Regions from separate parts of the Homo sapiens genome. Here regions 1 and 2 are each linked to region 3. The links are contacts of gene promoters, found by promoter capture Hi-C in human tissues and cell types (Jung and others, 2019). All regions are on one chromosome and are shown on one strand. Each heading gives the region's core, a stretch centred on a gene start or on the middle of the fragment in contact. The rest is flanking DNA. Distances are from core to core; before and after follow the strand shown. Region 1 has its middle 52 kb from the start of ABCG2. Region 2 overlaps ABCG2 (ATP binding cassette subfamily G member 2 (JR blood group)). Region 3 holds the start of PKD2 (polycystin 2, transient receptor potential cation channel).

The links. The method cuts DNA at HindIII sites, captures the fragments that hold promoters and counts their contacts. A contact is called where the count stands out against the background at its distance.
Region 1: a contact is called between a fragment that was not itself captured here and the fragment with the promoter of PKD2 in region 3, in 2 of the 25 tissues and cell types used here (H1 embryonic stem cells and hippocampus).
Region 2: a contact is called between a fragment that was not itself captured here and the fragment with the promoter of PKD2 in region 3, in 1 of the 25 tissues and cell types used here (H1 embryonic stem cells).

The regions. Positions count from the first base shown.
Region 1 is chr4:88,208,550-88,212,086 of GRCh38, forward strand. It overlaps a transcript of ABCG2 not described here. Among named protein-coding and RNA genes, the nearest start is that of ABCG2, 52 kb to the left of the region's middle. The HindIII fragment of the contact is 7,328 bases long and covers 1-3,537 here.
Region 2 is chr4:88,150,232-88,153,733 of GRCh38, forward strand. The region is part of intron 1 of ABCG2 (ATP binding cassette subfamily G member 2 (JR blood group)); the gene reads right to left. Among named protein-coding and RNA genes, the nearest start is that of ABCG2, 6.7 kb to the right of the region's middle. The HindIII fragment of the contact is 6,040 bases long and covers 1-3,502 here.
Region 3 is chr4:88,005,705-88,009,402 of GRCh38, forward strand. PKD2 (polycystin 2, transient receptor potential cation channel) reads left to right here and starts at 1,931. Exons shown (of 15, transcript NM_000297.4): 1 at 1,931-2,624. The coding sequence starts at 2,030. RefSeq lists silencers at 1,694-2,623, 2,674-2,813. The HindIII fragment of the contact is 15,667 bases long and covers 1-3,698 here.

The DNA.
Region 1 (3,537 bases), core at 382-2,881, 200 kb after region 3:
GTGTGACCCACCCTTATCAGTTAACTGATAACTGGGGACACTGTGAAGCAACTTCCAGATGCTCCCTAAGAATCAAGCTCAAAAGCAGGGCTTTCTAGGGATAGCAGCCTCAAACAGATCTGCTCTGTTAACTTTTTTCTGCATACCAAGGTACTTCCATTTTTTAATTTAAAAAACTGAACTTTCCCAAGTGCTCAATCAACCCAGACAAAGCAAATAAATTGAATCCATAAATATGGCCAACCTAACTTATTTCAAGTGTCCCACTATTTTCTCCAAACTTGTGGTATTGCAACTTTAAATCAAAAGCCTAAATTACTTATTTAATTATAACATTTGAAATTGGACTGACAAAATTGGTCTTAACCAATTAACCTGGGAGGCGGAGGTTACAGTGAGGCGAGATCACACCACTGCACTCCAGCCTGGGTGACAGAGCGAGACTGTCTCAAAAAAAACAAAACAAAACAGTTCATACCTTGGCCAGGTGCAGTGGTTTAAGCCTATAATCTCAGCACCTTGGGAGGCCGAGGCAGTCGGATCACCTGAGGTCAGTTCAATACCAGCCTGGCCAACATGGCGAAACCCTGTCTCTACTAAAAATACAAAAATTAGCTAAGTGTGGTCGCACACACCTACAATTCTAGCTACTCAGGAGACTGAGGCACAAGAATCACTTGAACCAGGGAGGCAGAGCTTGCAGTGAGCAGAGATGGCACCACTGCACTCCAGCCTGGGCGACAGAGCGAGACTCCATCTCAAAAAAAAAAAAAAAAACAAAAAAGCAAACAAGAAACACCAAAAAAAACAAAATAAATAAAAACAAAATTCAGACCGGATGCGGTGGCTCACACTTATAATCCCAGCACTTTCAGAGGCTGAGGCAGATGGATCACCTGAGGTCAGGAGTTTGAGACCAGCCTGGCCAACATGGTGAAATCCCATCTCTACTAAAATACAAAAATTATCCAGGCGTGGTGGTGAGCGCCTGTAATCCCAGCTACTCAGGAGGCAGAAGAATCGCTTGAACCTGGGAGCCGGAGGTTGCAGTGAGCTGATGTCATGCCACTGCACTCCAGCCTGGCTGGGTGAGAGCAAGACTCTGTCTCAAAAAAAAACAAAAAACAAAACAAAAACAAAAAACAAAGTTCATACCTCTTTCTATAAGTAAAAAATAAAAATTTTAAGTGAAAGAAAATTTTTCAGTTTGATTAGCAGGGGTTGTGTTGGTGTTGGCAATGTTATATAAAATAATAAGTAATGATAAGTTTTAGATTCAAGCTACGTGGTAGTAGCAATATACTGTGCTTTTCCTTTGCCAAAGATAACCTAAAGATAAAACTAATAAACAGAATCTTCTCTGCTATTCACCATTTTCCCCAGTTGTCAGTTATTTTTGACTGAATACGTTTTTTGCTTTTGTACCCTAGTGGTAGATCACTCTTTGAATGCATCTTAAAGATGTGTCCTATAAAACAAAACAAAACAAAACACCCTAAGCATCCTGTATAAGACTATTACCTTGTGGGTATTCCTACAGGTGTAGAATGCTCATGCACATATAAGTTGGTAATAAAATGTTTTGATTGAATTAGATATAATTAGGTTAAAGATGTCAGTAATGTAAGTAATCCTACACACACACACACACACACACACACACACACACACATATACATATATACGTTTAAGACAGTGCCTCTCTATGTTGCCTAAGCTGGACTGGAACTCCTGAGCTCAAGCAACCTTCCCACCTCAGCCTCCAGTGGCTGGGACTGGAGGCAGGCACCATTGTGCCTGGCTAGTAATGCAATATTTTTGTGTTCGTTGAAGGAGAGTAAAATAAATTGTAAAATCTATTTGTAGTTTATTTTGAAATGCTCTCCCCAGCAGCCTTACCTTTGCCTTATTTTCTTGAGGTCCTATTTACATTCATCCCATTCAGTGAGGATGAAGGATGTTGTTCTAAAACAAAAAGAATGGTAGAAATAAGCCCCATATAGTTAAAAGTGTGCTGGTAGCTATAAATACATACTTTTTCTTTTCTTTTTTTTTTTCTAAGAGATGGGATCTTGCTCTGTTGCCCAGGCTGGAGTGCAGTGGTACAATCATAGCTCACTGCAGCCTCAAACTCCTAGGTTCAAGCAATTCTCCCACCTCAGCCCCTGAGTACCTGGGAATATAGGCACTTGCCACCATTAACTGGCTAATATTTTATAGAGACAGTCTTGCTTTGTTGCCCACACTGGTCTCGAACTCCTAGCTTCTTCCCAAAATGCTGGAATGACAGGCATAAGCCACCACACCTGACCCATACATACATTTTTTTCAAGGAATAACAGAAGCCAGAGTTGATTTTATTTGCATTTGTTAAGAAGAGGCGCAGATGCCATGTTCTGCCCCTGTATTCCCAGCTACTCAGGAGAATGAGGTGAGAGGATTTCTTGGGGCCAGGAACTCGAGGCTGTAGTGCCCTGTGACTGCACCAGGGATTAACCACTGCACTCTAGCTTGGGCAACACAGAGAGGCTTGGTCCCTAAAAAAATTAAAAAATAAAAAAAATATATATATATATGTAAAAGAAGAAGAGAGAGTAGTTTGGCTAATTAAGGAGAGGATGTGCTAAACAGGGGACTTAACAAAAGCCACTTTCATTGTGTATTTTAAAAATTATTTTATTTTAGATTCAGGGTTGCACGTGCTTGTTTGTTACATAAGCAGATTGCATACTGGTGGGGACTGAGCTTCTAGTGTACCCAATGTCCAAATAGTGAACATTGTACCTGATAGGTAATTGTTCAACCCCTGCCCCACCCCCCCCCACTTTTGGAGACCCCAGTGTCTGTTATTTCCATCATCATGTTTTCGTTTTAATTTTCTTTTTGAGATGGAGTCTCACTCTGTTGTCCAGGCTGGAGTGCAATGGCGCGATCTCCGCTCACTGCAACCTCCGCCTCCCAGGTTCAAGTGATTCTTCTGCCTCAGACACCTGAGTAGCTGGGACTACCGGAGTACACCACCACACCTGGGTAATTTTTTTGTATTTTAAGTAGAGACGGGGTTTCACTGTGTTAGCCAGGATGGGCTCGATCTCCTGACCACGTGATCCGCTTACCTTTGCCTTCTGAAGTGCTGGGATTACAGGCGTGAGCCACTGTGCCCGGCCGAGAACTCTTTACTTTCAAATGACCAAGATATTTTGGGGAATACAGCAATTCTCTTAACTTGAAGATACAGTCAAACCGGTACTGCACTAAAGGGAAAAACGGGATAAGCAATAAATAGAACTAGAGATGTGGGCCAGAGGGGAAAGTCTTTCTCAAGCCTCTCTTCCAGATAAAATCAAGTTTGGCCATTTTTGTCTTACCTGATTGCAGTCAAAAGCATTTCGAGTGATTTATGGGAATTAGAGCTTTTGGTGCACAGCTAGTTCATTCTTAAATTGCCCATGCTTACATAGTGTAGGAGAAGGTGTGAGTCTATGTCCCAATTTACACATACCGCCCCCAAATAATTATTAGTAGTGGCCTCTTCCT
Region 2 (3,502 bases), core at 609-3,108, 140 kb after region 3:
GCTTGAACCCGGGAGGCAGAGATTGCAGTGAGCCAAGGTCACACCAATGCACTCCAACCTGGGCAACAGAGGTGGTCACGGAAGGCCTTTCCAGTGAGGCCCTCAAGCAGAGCTCTGAGGGTGGCCTTCTGGAGGAGCAGTATATGTCCAAGTGCTGGTCGAAGGAACAGCAAAGAGGCCAGTGAGGCTGAAGCAGAGTGAGGGAGGATAAGAGAGCAGGAACTCGGGTTGTATCTACCACTGACCACAGGAAGGACTTTGGCTTTGATCTGAATGGCACTGGAAGGCACAGGAAAGTTCTGAGTGAAGAAATGATATCTATATTTAAAGCAGGAGTGTCCAATCTTTTGGCTTCCCTGGGCCACACTGGAAGAAGAATTGTCTTGGGCCACATATAAAACACACTAACATTAACAACAGCTGATGAGCTAAATTAAAAACAAAAATCACATAATGTTTTAAGAAAGTTTACTAATTTGTGTTGGGCTTCATTCAAAGCCATCTTGGGCCACATGCACGTTGGACAAGCTTGGTTTAAAGGATCACTCTGACTTTGGTCATGGGTAGGGACAATGCAGGGAGACCACATAAGAGTCCACCATAATAATATCAAGAGCCAAGATGAGGACACTGTCCTGCACCCCTCCCTCCATAGCCTATGAGAGCTCCCTGAAACCTATTATCTGTGCATGTTCTGCAAAATCGCCTGCCCCAAACAATTCCATTTCCTGACCTCCTCTTACACTGCCCAAACTGGGAAAACAAGGTCAAAAATAAATGACAGTGGTTCAGCTTCAGGCCCACAGGAAGTGAATAACTCATTTACATTTAAGAGGGGACTGACTGAGAAGCCCCTATGAATTTAAATAAAAGGAGTAGTGACTGGGGCTAGAAGACATAGGGAGGACAGCGGCAGAAGCTCTGGGAAAGTCATCACCCTTTCTCTTCTCCCTTTGCAAGGTTGACTCCACCAAATTGGCACTGTGGGAAGATTAGCAGCAGTGAGGTGGGTCATTAGAACATTTTGGGATCCTAAGTCCCCAGGGGGAAACAAAATCAAGTTGAGTGTGAGTTAGATTTACCCAAAACCACACAGCATTGTGCCTACAACCCAGTCCTTGTTCTCCGTGAGTCTAGTACATGTCAACTACATGAAGATCAATATCCCTGCTCCCTTCCAGTTTATAATTCAATCATCGGAATTGCAGTAAAAATTATGAACAGAGGCTGGGTGCAGTGGCTCATGCCTGTAATCCCAGCACTTTGGGAGGCCGAGGCAGGTGGATCACGAGGTCAGGAGATCAAGACCATCCTGGCTAACACGGTGAAACCCCATCTCTACTAAAAATACAAAAAAGTAGCTGGGCGTGGTGGAGGGGCGCCGGTAGTCCCAGCTGCTGGGGAGGCTGAGGCAGGAGAATGGCGTGAACCCGGGAGGTGGAGCTTGCAGTGAGCCGAGATGGCGCCACTGCACTCCAGCCTGGGCGACAGAGTGAGACTCCATCTCAAAAAAAAAAAAAAAGAATTATTAACAGAAAATTAAATGTGAGCAGCGGCATTACTTCTCAAAATTCTGAGACCTACAATAAAAAACATCATGATCCAGTATACAAAGATATAAAAGAAGGAGCATGTAATGTGTGTGTACTCCAAAATCATAGAAGGGCTCATTAATTATTGCAAGGGATCCTCTCTCTAATCCACGGGTACAGTTACCATCTCAGACCAAATAATGTCTCATCATAAACACAGTACTTCTTCATTGCTAGTATGACTAACATAAATATGGGTCTCAAATCCTTTTCTCACTGTGAATTCAATCAACAGATACCAAAATTATAATATTAGGATGTAGTTTAAGCTACTCAGCTAATAAAATGATCCTGGTTTCTTACCAGAGCCTAATAGATAGAAGCTCACATATGCATTATTTGTTTTGGAAGCACTGGCAGGGTTTCATTTGAGAAAAAAATGGGAGCTTTAAAAAATTACTAAATACTACCAATTTTACTTCTTTCCCATAAGAGACTGAATCCAAGTTGGCAAATACAGTCAGGTCCTCTATAATGTTTAAACTTTAAGGCAATATGAATTTTCACTCGCGTCCGTGTGAAGAGACCACCAAACAGGCTTCGTGTGAGCAATAAAGCTTTTTAATCACCTGGATGCAGGCGGGCTGAGTCCGAAAAGAAAGTCAGCAAAGGGAGATAGGGATGGGGCCATTTCATAAGATTTGGGTAGGTAAAGGGTAAAGGGGGTTTGTTCTCTGGTGGGCAGGGGTGGGGCGTCACAGGGTGCTCAGCGGGGGAGCTTTTGAGCCAGAATGAGCCAGGAGAAGGAATTTCACAAGGTAATGTCATCAGTTAAGGCAGGAACAGGCCATTTTCAGTTCTTTTGTGGTGGAATGTCATCAGTTAAGGCAGGAACCAACCATCTGGATGTATATGTGCAGGTCACAGGGGATATGATGGCTTAGCTTGGGCTCAGAGGCCTGACATTCCTGTCTTCTTATATTAATAAGAAAAATAAAACAAAATAGTGGTAAAGTGTTGGGGTGGTGAAAATTTTTGGGGGGTGGTATGGAGAGAGAATGGGTGATGTTTCTCAGGGCTGCTTCAAGTGGGATTAGGGGCGGCGTGGGAACCTAAAGTGGGAGAGATTAAGCTGAAGGAAGATTTTGTGGTAAGGGGTGATATTGTGGGGTTGTTAGAAGAAACAATTGTCCTATATAAGTATTGGTGATGGCCTGGATACAATTTTGTATGAATTGAAAAAAGAACGGAATAAGACAAGGAGAAAAACAGGTATTAAAGGACTAAGAATTGGGAGGACCCAGGACATCCAATTAGAGAGTGCCTAAGGAGGTTCAGCATAGCCCTGCCAGCAAAGATGATTTATTTACTTTAAGAGTTGAGAGTGGCGGTTTGGGGATAGCACCAGGAGATATCAGCTGTGGTGGCTTGGAGAAACAGTGTAAACCGGCAGTGTAAACAAGAGCGGGCATGTATGAGTAGTTGAGAATGGTGAATAGGAGTATGACTAGACAGAAGATAGTAGGGATGACAAGTTTTTGGGGGCGCAGTCCAAGTTGGTCTGGTGTCTGGAATGAGACTGGGGCCTAATAAAAAGGAGCATCTATACAGGAGCTCAAATGGGCTGTATTTTGTCGCATTCCGAAGACAGGCCCGAATTCTGAGAAGGGCAAGTGGTAAAAGTATTATCCAGTCCTTTTTAAGTTGGTGGCTGAGCTTGGTGAGGTGTGTTTTTAAAAGACCAGTAGTCCGTTCTACCTTTCCTGAAGATTGAGGATGGTAAGGGATATAAATGTTTCACTGAATACCAAGAGCCCGAAAAACTGCTTGGCTGATTTGACTAATAAAGGCCGGTCCTCTATTGAACCGTATAGAGGTGGGAAGGCCAAACCAAGGAATTATGTCTGACAGAAGGGAAGATATGACCGTCGTGGCCTTCTCAGACCCTGTGGGAAAGGCCTCTACCTATC
Region 3 (3,698 bases), core at 681-3,180:
GGATCAGGTAATAGGTAGCCATAATTACCTAAATATTAGCAGCATGTTATATGTGCCTAGAGAACAAATGAATAATTCATTAAGGTGGATGGATGGCATGGGATGCCATGCTAGAGGAGTACATTAAGAGCTGTTAAAGCTAAATTGTGTCCCCCCAAAAATTTCTGTGTTGAAGTCCTAACCCCCATTACCTCAGAACATGACCATACTTGGAGACAGGGTCTTTACAGAAGTAATGAAGTGAAAACAAGGTCATGAGGGTAGGCCCTAATCCAATATGATGTATAAGAATAGACAATTAGGACACAGACGCATACAGAGGGAAGAGGGAAGACGGCGTGAGGACACAAAAGCGGGGCCATCTGCAAGCCAAGGAGAGAGGCCTCAGAAGAAACCAACTCTGCCAACACCTCGTGAGAAAATACAATTTTTCTTTTCTTTTTCCTTCCTTCCTTCTTTTTTTCTTTCTTCTCTCTCTCTCTTTCTTTCTTTATGAGACAGAGTCTCACTCTGTCACTTGGAGTGCAGTGGCCCGATCTTGGCTCACTACATCCTCTGCCTCCCGGGCTCAAGCGATCCTCCCACCTCAGCGTCCCTAATAGCTGGGACCAAAGGCACACACCGCAAAGCCTGGCTAATTTTTGTATTTTTTGTAGAGACAAGGTGAGCAAATAAATTTCTGTTAAGCCACCCAGTCTCTGGTACTTTGTTATGGCAGCCCTAACAAACAAATACAGGAGCAGATTATGAGAATTTACTAAACCAAACCACAGAAATTAAATTTTATCCTTTCAGCTGCCAGAAGCCCACAGAGGTGTCTAAGCATCAACGTGACAAATAAGCAGCTTTGGTTCTGCAATATAACCTGGAAATAGTGAGGACACCGACGTGGAGAATAGAGATGGGAGTTGACAGGGATCAATTGTTCTAATGCGGAATAATGCAAGACATAAGATCAAGCCAGCAGGAGTGAGAAACAGAGATCATATCAGGGTGATATCTGTGGGGCAAAAGTAACAAGAAGATAAGGTGTAGGCGGTGGAGGGTAAACCGCGAGGCTTCCATGAAGAAGAGTGGCCTGGGAAGTGAGGAGGACAGCGAAGCCCCAAACCTCACCTTGGGATACGGGAAGTGAAGCAGGTTCCAGAGAAGGGGACAAGATAATGACTTAGGGTAGGATAAATTTCAGACAATTGCAGAGCATCACATTAGATGTGTTCAGAAGAGTGGAAATAAAGTTCTGTGCCTAGGCCCTCATGCAGGATTCTGTTGCTAGAAGTCAGTGCTGGCCGCAGGGAGACCGGAGATCACAGTGGAGGCACCAGCGATCCGAGAGTCCTATGACGAATCCCTGGGATCCCCACAATGTGTGGAGACAGAAGCCAACCAAAGAGCGAGAAAGCATCTCCAAACCAGCAGAATCAGGGGCAGGAGGCCCGCCAAATGCACAGCAAGTCAGCCTTGGTAGTTTGCAAATGGAAAGATTTCTTTGACCCGCTGGAGACTTCAGCTCAGGCTGGATGTCGCTAATTCACACCATCTCACCAAAAGGTTCTTTCCCTGCCCTTTGGTGAATCGAGGCAGAAGTGGCTGGTGGATAACTGGGACCCAAGAGTTATCTCAGCGTCGGGCAGGCATCGACAGCTCCAGGAGCCCTTTCCCTGCAGGCGGGCTGGCGGGTGAGCGATTCCCTCCCTTCCCAGGCCTTCCCGGGAATGGAACGTGGGCGCCCGCGCCCGGGCTCCGGTTCCACTTGGAACGCGGACTCGGGAGCCGCCGGGCGAGCGCGCAGACCGCGGGGGCGGCTCCCTCGCACCTCCCCGCTCAGCGCGCCGCGGCGGATGGGCGAGGCGGGGCGAGGCCAGAGGGAGGCGGGCCAAAGGGGCGGGCGAGAGGACGCGGGACCGCGGGGAGGTCGGGGGCGGGGAGCAGGCGGCGGCGGGCGCCGGGAAGAAAGGAACATGGCTCCTGAGGCGCACAGCGCCGAGCGCGGCGCCGCGCACCCGCGCGCCGGACGCCAGTGACCGCGATGGTGAACTCCAGTCGCGTGCAGCCTCAGCAGCCCGGGGACGCCAAGCGGCCGCCCGCGCCCCGCGCGCCGGACCCGGGCCGGCTGATGGCTGGCTGCGCGGCCGTGGGCGCCAGCCTCGCCGCCCCGGGCGGCCTCTGCGAGCAGCGGGGCCTGGAGATCGAGATGCAGCGCATCCGGCAGGCGGCCGCGCGGGACCCCCCGGCCGGAGCCGCGGCCTCCCCTTCTCCTCCGCTCTCGTCGTGCTCCCGGCAGGCGTGGAGCCGCGATAACCCCGGCTTCGAGGCCGAGGAGGAGGAGGAGGAGGTGGAAGGGGAAGAAGGCGGAATGGTGGTGGAGATGGACGTAGAGTGGCGCCCGGGCAGCCGGAGGTCGGCCGCCTCCTCGGCCGTGAGCTCCGTGGGCGCGCGGAGCCGGGGGCTTGGGGGCTACCACGGCGCGGGCCACCCGAGCGGGAGGCGGCGCCGGCGAGAGGACCAGGGCCCGCCGTGCCCCAGCCCAGTCGGCGGCGGGGACCCGCTGCATCGCCACCTCCCCCTGGAAGGGCAGCCGCCCCGAGTGGCCTGGGCGGAGAGGCTGGTTCGCGGGCTGCGAGGTAAGAGCGCGCGACCCGCAGCGGCAGATGCACGAACCAGAACGGCCGGCGCCGGCCGGGGCCATCGCCCGCTGCGGCAGCTCCCCGGGCTCCATCTCGCATCCCCTCTGCGTTCCGCCTCCCTTGGAAGCGCATTCCCCACCTCCGCTAGTGCTGCCCTATTTCCGGTACCCAGCGCGGAATTCCACTGCTCTTTTGTTGGTGCATATTTATTGGATACCTCCTTCTTCAGGATATGTCACCATAGTCTTTTTTACTGAAAATTAGTGAAAGCCTAATTAGAGTGAAAGAGTACATCTGGGTTTTGTTTTTTTTTTTCTTGTAGAGGAAAAAATGAACATTACTTGTGTAACTGATGGTAGTTGCAACTGCATATTTGCCAATGTCACAAAATCTAAAGGAAAATGTTATAGTCACCCGTGGTTTCCTTCTTGCCTGGACACTCCATTGTCCCGGGCTGAAAAGGGTAGCAGTACAGTGCATATAATGTCAAGTTGTGGGAGGAGTGTGGCAGATTGTCATTGGTGCATTTTTTTGGTGATGTGTGTGGTTGTTTTGAGGAGTGGGAGCTGTTAAGAACACCACAAATAGAATAAAATAATATCGTGAAGTTATTTGGCCGTTTCTAATTCTAGACATTTTTCTAAAAACAGTTGCAAAGGAAAGATTACATTGTTTTAAAAAAATTTGAAGTATGTTTTTAAATAACTAAATTAATGTTCTTTGAAATTCCACCAAAATGATGAAGTCACCAGATAGCAGCTGATAAATGTGTCTGAGCCCAGTGCGCCCAGCTCTACAAAAGGCAGAAGAGGAATTTTCAAATTTGCCAGTGCCCAGTAAGAGGACATGAATTTTCTAGTACCAGAGGAAATTCTCTTTTTACAAATTTTGTCAGAGGTATCCTTGGGAAAGTATTTCATTTGCTTTTACCCTCCAAATTATTTTAATCTATATTTTTAAGAGTTTCCATTCTCAGTTGAGTTTTTCTTGTTCTTCTCCTTCTGTCAGTTTTGAAAGTCTTGCACAAAAACAATCCAGGTGTTGTTACAGCAGTGTGATTAAAACCAGGTC